2 separate regions of the Homo sapiens genome follow, and region 2 is linked to region 1. The links are contacts of gene promoters, found by promoter capture Hi-C in blood cells and fetal thymus (Javierre and others, 2016). All regions are on one chromosome and are shown on one strand. The core of a region is centred on a gene start or on the middle of the fragment in contact, and the rest is flanking DNA. Distances in the headings are between cores, read along the strand shown. Region 1 holds the start of RSPO2 (R-spondin 2). Region 2 has its middle 120 kb from the start of TMEM74.

Region 1 (4,763 bases), core at 1,169-3,668:
ATCAGTTATTTGGAGCTCTGCGCTCAGGTGGGCCAATCTCTAGCTCTGCCCCTAGGTGAGAACAGCTTAACAATGTCCTAAAAAGCCATCAAAAAAATAAGGTTCGGAAAGTCCTCCTCAAAATCTGGATGCAGGAGCGGAGATTACACACAATGAGTTATAAACAAATCACATCACAGATCGAGTGAGATGTTTACATCTTGGAGAAAAAGTCAACATTCATGAACCCGGCGACAAATTCTAATTGCGCAAAAGTCCAAAGTGCCGAATGAAATAGACAGCTCTCACCAGGTCCCTGGGAAGGGGCTGCTGCGCGCCCTTCCTGCGCGGGTAATTCGATGTGCGTGTGGTGAGTGGTTTATGTTTAAATCCACCCAGAAAATTGAATCGTGTCTAGCCGCCCTTCTTCTAAAATGCAGTTGGATTAGTTGCATCTCCAGCGGACTCCGAGACAGAAATACGCACTAAATCTGCAGGAAAGCGAGTTCCCCGAAACCTTTCTGGAGGCTTCCACCCGCCTTCTCCGCTACGCACAAGTGATGGAGAGGGAGGGAGCAGTTAAAAAGCCGCAAGTGAATTTCATTGAGAACAGAAGCCTCCACCGGTGTGGCTGCTTTTGCAAAGCAAATGGAGAGAGCGAAGTGGGGCCTGTTTTAAAAACAAACCTCTGGAGGCGAGGACTCCCCAGAAAACCAGCGCGGGAATTGCTGCTTAATTCAGAAAGTTCCCATCTCGTCGCAGTTTCCAGAAAAAAGAGATCTATGTTGGCCTTTTTCTGGAAAGGGAGGTCCTCCCCCTCGACTTGGTACCCCTCCCAAGCTCCGGAATACAGACACACGCTTGGGTACACCCACACACCACACACACACTATGCTAGGTCAAGTCCGAAGAGATCTGAGGCCGGGTTTGGGGCGCACGTGGATGGGGAAGATAAAACAAATGAGCTACAGGGAAGATGGTTAGGAGGACAGAGAGAAGAACAACGACGACAAAAAAAAAATGCATGTCAGATAAGAAATACGTCCTAAAGAGACAAGTTTAGATGAGGAGGTGGGGCGGCGAACATGAGTGCGGACCGCACGACTTAGCCCTGAGCGCCCGATTGGCGCCCGGCTCGCCGAGCTCCCAGCGCGTCTCGCTCCGGCTCCCCGCGCCTCCAGGGTACAGAAAACAGAGTGTTTTGTAGAGCTCCAGGGTCCTAAAGGTGGGGACTGGGGACCCGCAAAAGCTGGGGTGGAGAGCACAGCCCTGACCATCTGAGCCCCCGGAGCCAGGGCGTGAGTGAGCGCCTCCACACGCCACCCCTGAAGCCCACCACGCACCTTTGGCAGAGAGGGACCCACCTCGCTTACTGCGTCTCCATCGGTTGCCTTGGCAGTGGCTGTAATCCATGCAGTTCAGAATGATGAGGGCAAAGGAGAAAAGGCGAAACTGCATCTGGGCGGTCGGGCGGGGGAGAGACGCCTCTCAAAGTCTAGGAACTGGAGGGTTCGCCCAAAGAGCCGGCGCCGGCCGCGCTGCTGGGGAGGACTCAGAGGGAGACTCGCCACTCACCCCCGGGCCGCACCGGTCAGTTCAGCGCGATCAGCATCTCTCCGCCACGAACCTGAGAGACAAGAAGCGAAAACAGGGTGTGTGGGGGATGGAGAGAGCCCCGGGGAGGCAGCTGCGCCTTCGCACGTCCCAATTTAAAGAAGAGAGGGAAGGAGGAAGCGAACCCACTGCCTAGCACGAGCCGCGGAGCGGCTTAATCCAGAGCGGGCAGCTGCGGACGAGTTGGAGAGGAAGGTGATTATAATCAGTGAATTAGCAACCTCTGCCGAGCCCTAAGCTCCGACCCAGCGGCATAATGCGTTGTGCCGGCGCTCCGGGGAAAGGAAAGAACTCTAAAGGCACTGAGAGCGCAGGGCTAAAAGAACGCTCTTAGGCCATTTGGAGTCCACGGCGGTGTACCCAAGCGCCGCAGCTGCGGCTGCCTTGGTGTGGGTTGCCTACCGTGCGCACGTCTCGGGCGGCGCGGCCTCCCTAGGCGCGGTGCTCCATCCCGGGCTCGGGAAGCGAGCCGCTTGGTTAGCACGTGGGCTGGGGAAAAGTTTGCCGAGACCGGCTGGGAGCGCCTGGCAGCTCTGGAATTCCAGCGGCCGCCGCGGGGTTGGCGACGCCAGGCAGGAGCGCGGAGCGGCGGGTGCAGCCACTGGGATGCTCCGTCCCCGCCCGCGAGCGCGGTCCCCAGGCAAGGGGTGCGCCCGCTCACACTCTCTGCCTCCCTAACCAATTGTGTCGCTTCCTGCGCTTTCTCCACGGTCACTTCACAGCTAAGATTTCTTTCTTTCCGAGCTGTAGAAGGCAGAACGCTCTCGGGAGGACGAAGTGATCCGAAGGGATGTGGCAAGCGCACTTTCCGATGGAGATGCAGACCGGCTGAGGCTTGGGATGCTTCTATAAGTAGGTGGTGCTGTGGTCCAAGGCATCTAAGTCTAGGCTGCCTCGGAGTTCCTGGGTCCTAAAGCCAGAAACGTCCCGGTTTCCCTGAGGTCCTAAAGAACGTTGACAGCCAACAGCGCGCCTAACTTGGAGCGAATCCTCTTCGGGCTTTCCAGAGTGCGGGGGATAGATAAAGAGTAGCTGGGGAGACGCCCCCTGACCTTGCTGGGTCCCAGAACCCGGCTGCTCACCCCCAAGGGGTCCTCTCCAGCCCTCTAGGGTCAGTTCCAACCTCAGCGCCAACCTTTCTGCAGGGAGATCTGACTGAAGGACTGATGACTCCCTTTAAACTTTTGCAATATGCCACAACTCTGCCACTTTTTAATTTACATCTTGTCTGTGTTTTGCAGGAAGGTATGTTAGCCGGCTGAAATTATTCATAAAACGCGCCCCCACTTTGAGGAGTGAAATGGGTATTCCCAACAGCTTTTGTTCATCCTCAGAACTGTTATTTACTTTGTTTCTTCTCCAATAAAACAAAAACCTGTGATCCGTTGCCTGAAGTGCTGAAGAAGTTGGGGCCTTGATTCTTTAAAAATAATTTTAAAAAGTTCACTTCCCACTAAAGTATTTTTCATTCTTAATCCTCCTCTCATTTCCAAAGTCTCCTGAATTAAACTTTTAGGTGCTTTGGGTTTGGGGAAAATATTCTGTTTAACAAAGTGTTACATTAAATAGACTTGATGCCATCCAATTTCATTCTGGTGAAATCTGTCCTGCATTCACTACTGTAGGAAAAAATGTATTTATTCCTTAAGCAAAAGATAAGAATTTATGCCACTAACCGTGGCAGTATGAATGTCTATAGATATGCCCGCAGTTACCATATTATTATGATAGCATTTTATACTATTTAAATTCCCTTTTCTATTCCTTCAGTTTCAGAAGATGTTCAGAAATTTGATGACTTAAAAGACAATCATATAAAAAGAATATTGCAATACTCATATTTATTAACTATTCCATTATTGCCTATTCATAACTATTTTACAGACTCACTATTACATAGTGGTATTTATGTGCTAAGAATTTCAGCAGTATGCCTTTGATGCATGCCTGAGAACACCCAAGTAAATCTGAGTTGAGGTCATTGGTCCCATTTCATAGATAAGAAAATCCATCACTGAGACTGGCCCACAGGGCACAAATAGAGTTCACAAAACACATTGCAGAAACAGTGGATCTGTTTCTTGACTTTTGAGCCTTTGATTTTTATCACAGAATTTGGAAACATTTCAGTGTAGGGAGTGGCCCCAGTGTTTGGCATAACTTGATATTTCTTGATCATCTTGATATGATGCTGAATATCTCTTCAGCACCATAAATACTACTTCTTTCCAAATATAGTCATATATGCACACAACAAATGAATTATACTTATAAAGGAGTTAAATCTATGGGAGAAAGGAAGTCTTCCCTAAGTAAGCCCCCCTGCCTCCTTGCAAAGCTTTGAGATCCATTCAAGATCAGTGGTCATCAGTGTCTTTTAAAATATTTAAAGGCAAAAGTAAACACAAGACCAAGCAGAGGTAGCGCTACCATTAATCACCTGCGTCACTTTGGGCAATTTTCTTGGTCTCAGTTTCCTTGGCAGTATTTTTAGGAAGTCTGTCCAAGGTCTCTTTCACTTCTACATGTTCTGGTTTACAATCAATTTTCTATTTGTACTAGGAAGTTTGCTATGGTATCTAACCAGTGTAAGGGCAAACTCATCAGTGATGGGTTCTTTGTGTAGAAAGAAGAGGGTTAGCCACTGCCTTCCTTAGTTAAATTTACAGACCACTTCACCCTTATCCCTTCAAAGACAACTTTCCATAATTTTAATTTTAATCTTTTGTGTTGTACAGTTGGTGCATTTTTAGCCAGAGATGCTTTTCAGTTTAGTGAACCCCCAGATTCAGTTCATGAGGAAGAATTTTGACAGTACCACTTCTGTAGAAAATTGGTTAATGTGTTTAGTAAGAAAAGAATAGGCTCTGGAAGAAAGGAAAATTCTTAATTCCTTCTTTTGCTCCCTCCTGGTCTATCTCTGCCTCTTAAAAGACACCAGTGAACCTTAAAACTCTGTCAGACTTAGTTCTTGGGGTACTTGGAGTCTCACACTTAATCACTTTGGGGCTAATTTGTTGATAATGCAGAATTTTTTTTTTTTACATTCACTGAATATTTTTCCTGACTTCAAAATCCCAGGAATGTTCTTGCTACTAAAAAATACAACCCTAATGGATCCTAGACTATCATTAACTTTAATCCCATATCTCTGCTTCCTTTCATTTCTA
Region 2 (4,887 bases), core at 46-2,545, 590 kb after region 1:
GAACGAAATTGAACGCCTAGTACCTCCTCCCATAATACTAAGAAGCAGAACAATGCTGTCATCTGCTTCATTTTATGGACACCAGTGATTTTCCTGTAGTGGAATAACTCTTGATTAAATATTTTCCATGCTCCTCCACATTTCCTGGTTCTACAGCTCTTGTTTCCCTGACTTAAAGCAAAAATATTGCTTGGCTAAGATACCATGCTCTATTTCAAATCAGTTTGCCACTAAAATTTGGTTATTGGAATGTCCTTTAAAAGGCAAACTACCCATATTTGAATATTACTCACAGGATAAAAAATCAACCAGCCATCTCCTCAGTATGTTCATAAATTTAATAAGTGATTTTTCAAAGAGCTTTTTATAATTATCCCTCTTTTAGAAATATAACCTCAAAGCTGATTTCTAGTTATGGCTTAATACATTTATCAAAACATAAGTTAATATATAAAGGCACATTTATATTATCTGCAACATTTACCTTTTCCAGCTAGAGAAACTATGTTGTTTATCAGTTATTGTATTAATAATAGTCATTGGTTAATGTTATTAGGGAAGTTATACCATTTTCATGACATGTCATAACAAAATAAGCCACAACAGCAACAATAGCACCAGCTCTAACTCTGGTACTACTACTACTATTGGTAATTCTGTGTCTACTGGCCCTGTGAGATAAGCCTGACAGCTACACTTATTCCCATTTTAAGGATAAGGAACCTGAAGCTGAGCACACTTCAGTGACTTATTTTAAGGTCAAAGCACACACCCAAGGTAGAAGCAAGGAAAGAAACCAGTTTTTCTGACTTTCAAGAATACATAGTTGGGTACTGGGTTTTTGTTATGTTAACAGCACCTGATATATCGGGGAAGTTTGACTCTTATCAAAGCAAAATAAACATATTTATACAAAAAATATCACATTAAAAACTTTTTTGTCAATCTTGAGACTCCAAATTTCATCATTGGTATGACTGTTTTTTCCCGTCCTCCAGAACTTTGTGTTTCTGCTTGGTCCTAAAGCATTGGAGAAGCTTATTCAGATAATCGGTCAGTAGTCTGCCACAGTTGAACTGCAGTTACAACATTAATCCAGTTTACATTGTAATTTAGTCTGAAGTTCTGCTGTTTCTGTGCTGCACTTGGGCACAGAAGATTTTTATGACCAGGGAATCTTGGTGCCTGAGATCTTGGCTCCTTACACACCCTACTCAACCATTCCCCCTTTGAAGTCTTGCCACTTTCTTAGGTTGCTGTTAGAGCATATGCAGGCAATACTTAGGGGACTTATAGATCTCTCTCGTTTTTCAGGTTATGTTTCAGTTTATCAAATACGTAACTTCTCCTTTCTGCCTGACTTCCTGACCCTCAAAGCATTATTTTCTTTCTTTCTGCCTAAGACTTTGCCAAAGTCGCTGAGGCTGGGGTTGCAGCCTGCTCAAGAAGGAGCGGATATAAGGAGGACACACACAAGTTATCCTGCCGAGCACGTTACAATGAAAAGGTCATCATTAGTGGCCCTTTTAGTCATTTAAAACATTTACTGAGCCCAAAGCTTTCACCTTCTATTCTGGGCTGAAATGCAGAGAAAATTTGGGCTGGTGATATTTGCATATATGCTGTAAGGAGTAGAAGAAAATCATATCCTTCAATTCTTGGTAGTAAGTGGAAATAACTGGTGACTCTGAGCAGATTCTGATTAGAACAATAAGATATTAGCTTTGTTTTCAAATTTTAATAAGATTTTAAGTAAGATTTTTGAAAGCAGAGGAAAGTTTATATACTTGACTATTTCCATTGTCAGTTTATCATTGACAGTCACAAATCAGAGGGAAGTGACAATCATCTCCAGAATGAGAGAATACAGCATTCTTCAGAAGTAGTGCATGGGGCCAGGCATGGTGGCTCACGCCAGTAATCCCAGCACTTTGGGAGGCTGAGGTGGGCGGATCACCTAAGGTCAGGAGTTCGAGACCAGCCTGGTCAAGATGGTGAAACCCCATCTCTACTAAAACTACAAAACTTAGCCAGGCATGGTGATGCATGCCTGTAATCCCAGGTATGGGGGAGGCTGAGGCAAGAGAATCACTTGAACTCGGGAGGCAGAGGTTACAGTGAGCCGAGATTGCACCACTGCACTCTAGCCTGGATGACAGAGTAAGATTCTGTGAAAAAAAAAAAAAAAAAAAAAAGGCAATGAATGGCTTAATTCCTTTTCTTTATATTCATTTTTTTTCTGTACTCAGGAAAACTATTCATAGTATAGTAGAAGTATAAATAAAATGTTCACTCTGAATCTGGATAAATTATTTGATCTGCTGTCAAAAGTCCTTTCTTTATTTCATAATAAAAAGTGTACATGATTTATTCCAGTTTCAGTTCCCCTATGAACAAATAGCCAATTCTAGTGCTGTGTTCAATATTTTTACTTCAGAACATTGAGTAGGCATTGGGTCAGAAGCACCACCTGCTTAGGGAATGATTTGCCCTGCAATGTCTTTGGAAAGAAAGGAGTGTCTTAGTTTAATCCAGTATCATGTGTTGTGTATCACAGTATGTGAGAGCTTTAGATCATCGATGGAATTTTGATACTGAGTCTCCCATATACTGCAGTGCTGTGTGGTTGTGGCTGAGTCTTAATGCACCATATGATGTCACTTCCCCATTATAAAAACAAATGAAGAGAGTAGTGATTTATTTTGATACTTTCTTTACTTGCTTCTCAACTCCCCACAAGATCTTTAATAAAACTGGCTCTTCAGAAACAGATTAAGAAGCCTTGAAAATAGTTATATACGACATCTTTGTGGAAAGTCAGGATACAGAAAAACATGAAAGATGGATGAATTTGGCGGTTTGTAACATGTTACCAGAATCTATTTTCATCCCATGTTCACCGTAATATTAGGACCCAGCAATGAATTTTAGGTTAAAGAAAAAGAAGGAAACCACAAAAAGAAAAAAGAAAATAATCAGAAAGTAATTGATTTATAAACCTTTATGTTCTGTTTTAAACTCCAAAATCCCCATAAGAGCGAATCAAAGTTCCAAGAATGACCAATTGTGCTCATTAATAATAAAAAGGCACACTAGAGAAGAAGTTGAGAATATCATACCTATGCTTAGTGATATGATGTTTTGAAAGTGAGTATACAGTTGGAAAAATACAGTTTCATTAGTCCTCTCAGTGGTTTTTGAATCAGGGAAGAACGCTGAGACCTGATGAGGGTTCATACAAAACTTGGTTGAATGCAGTTGCAAAATACATCACCTAAACTATAGGTAGGGACTGGTGATGGCCAGTGCTCACTCTTGGAAATATTTTCTTTAGTGTTTGACTAGGAGTTATCCAACTGTTTTTATAAGGCACCTCCAATTTGGCTTAGAATAGAGCCAAAAAGTTAAATACTAGCTCAAGCTCCCACAATATCTTGGTTTTCTATGTGGCAAGACAACAGGATTTTCACTTTGCCACATTGCCCATGGAGCTGTACCACCCTCTTGCCAAGGTTAGAAGGCCCCCTGGGGCAAAAGCAACTGTCCTGTTTCTGTTTGTGGTTGGACTGAAGATGTTCACATGGCTAATGACCCCTGTGCCCAAAAGAAAAGCAGGTGACATTAAGGTTCATGCAATATTGATGTGTTAAGAGGGTTTTCACAACTCAGGAAGCTCTCTTAGCTGAGTTGGTTCTCCGAAAATGTTGAGTCCTGTTTTCCGTGGCATGGTGCAGCTGATGTTGTCACTCTGTGGTCAGGAGCAGGAAAGCTGGTGGGGTGGAGAGAGATTAGTGGTCTGGAAGTATGTAATTGGTATTTCATGGCAACAGGGAGTTGACAGCCCTCAGGGACCACAAATGGAGGGGAGGACCAACAGCTCAACTAGATTAAAACAAACTATGATTGAAAAAAAGTAAGAGAGAAATATATTCAAGCAGTTAAGAATTTGATAAATTACTCTATAGATGAATTCCATATTGCCTTCCATAAAAGGTAAAGTGTTAAATGAGATAATATATGTAAGGAAGTTAGCCTAGTGCCAGGATGACAGTGATTAATCAATTGAAAACCTGCCTGCTTTTAGTATTATTCTGTATGGGGAGCAGTTGGGTATAACTTAAGCTTAGCACAAGTATTATTTCATTTAAATTTTCCCCTTATTTGTACTAGAGAATTTAATCCTTATTTCAGATCTTGTACCTGACACTGTGGGTGGAAAAACTCCACTCATGAATTTGGAGCGGGCAGGCACACGGCTACGGCAGTTGCCGTCCAACTGAGTGTGGTTAGTTTGTGTAACTGAAGCCAAGCAAAGCTAAGGCAGTGCTAGTACATGGATCCTTCTGTTAGACTAAATAAAGAAGAGTGAACCCATTTTTATGGGGAGGAAAAGAAGAAAAAATTGTTCCTAACAGTAGGGGATGGCTTGAGTCTAGGAACCTCAGGCTGTGTCTAAATTTTATCAAATATTCAGATGAAGCTGCACAAAAATTTACTCAATCATCCAGATGTTTCCAGAAATACAATATTTTGATTTCATGTAGATGAAATCAGGGAAAGATTAGATTTTATTTTTCTGGCATTGTGAGACACAGTCTCAGTATCTTTCTTATTGTCTGGTGTGTCTCCCTACTTAGGACTATGTTGTGGGGACCAGCACAGCTGCTTTCTGGGGTTGTCAGTCCCCGGCCTGGGCCACTCTTGAATCTATAAAGGGCTGTTTGTTCTGTGTGAAACTCACTCAGGATGGAGCCCAGTTTGACATTTGGGTCATTGGAATGTGCCAGCTGAATTTAGTATCCTTGTGATTTCAAGTCAAAGGATTAAAATATACAAAGCCATGGAATTTAACTTTCCTCCTATCCCTCAGATCTCTCTGAAGGAGAT

The links. The method cuts DNA at HindIII sites, captures the fragments that hold promoters and counts their contacts. A CHiCAGO score of 5 or more calls a contact.
Region 2: a contact is called between a fragment that was not itself captured here and the fragment with the promoter of RSPO2 in region 1, in 1 of 17 cell types (M0 macrophages). The highest score is 6.2, in M0 macrophages.

Annotation. Positions count from the first base shown.
Region 1 is chr8:108,081,202-108,085,964 of GRCh38, forward strand. RSPO2 (R-spondin 2) reads right to left here and starts at 2,419. Exons shown (of 6, transcript NM_178565.5): 1 at 1,996-2,419; 2 at 1,344-1,606. The coding sequence starts at 1,437. RefSeq lists silencers at 440-734, 1,275-1,450 and an enhancer at 612-1,558. The HindIII fragment of the contact is 4,613 bases long and covers 1-3,929 here.
Region 2 is chr8:108,667,863-108,672,749 of GRCh38, forward strand. It overlaps a transcript of TMEM74 not described here and the pseudogene LOC124902049. Among named protein-coding and RNA genes, the nearest start is that of TMEM74, 120 kb to the right of the region's middle. The HindIII fragment of the contact is 521 bases long and covers 1,036-1,556 here.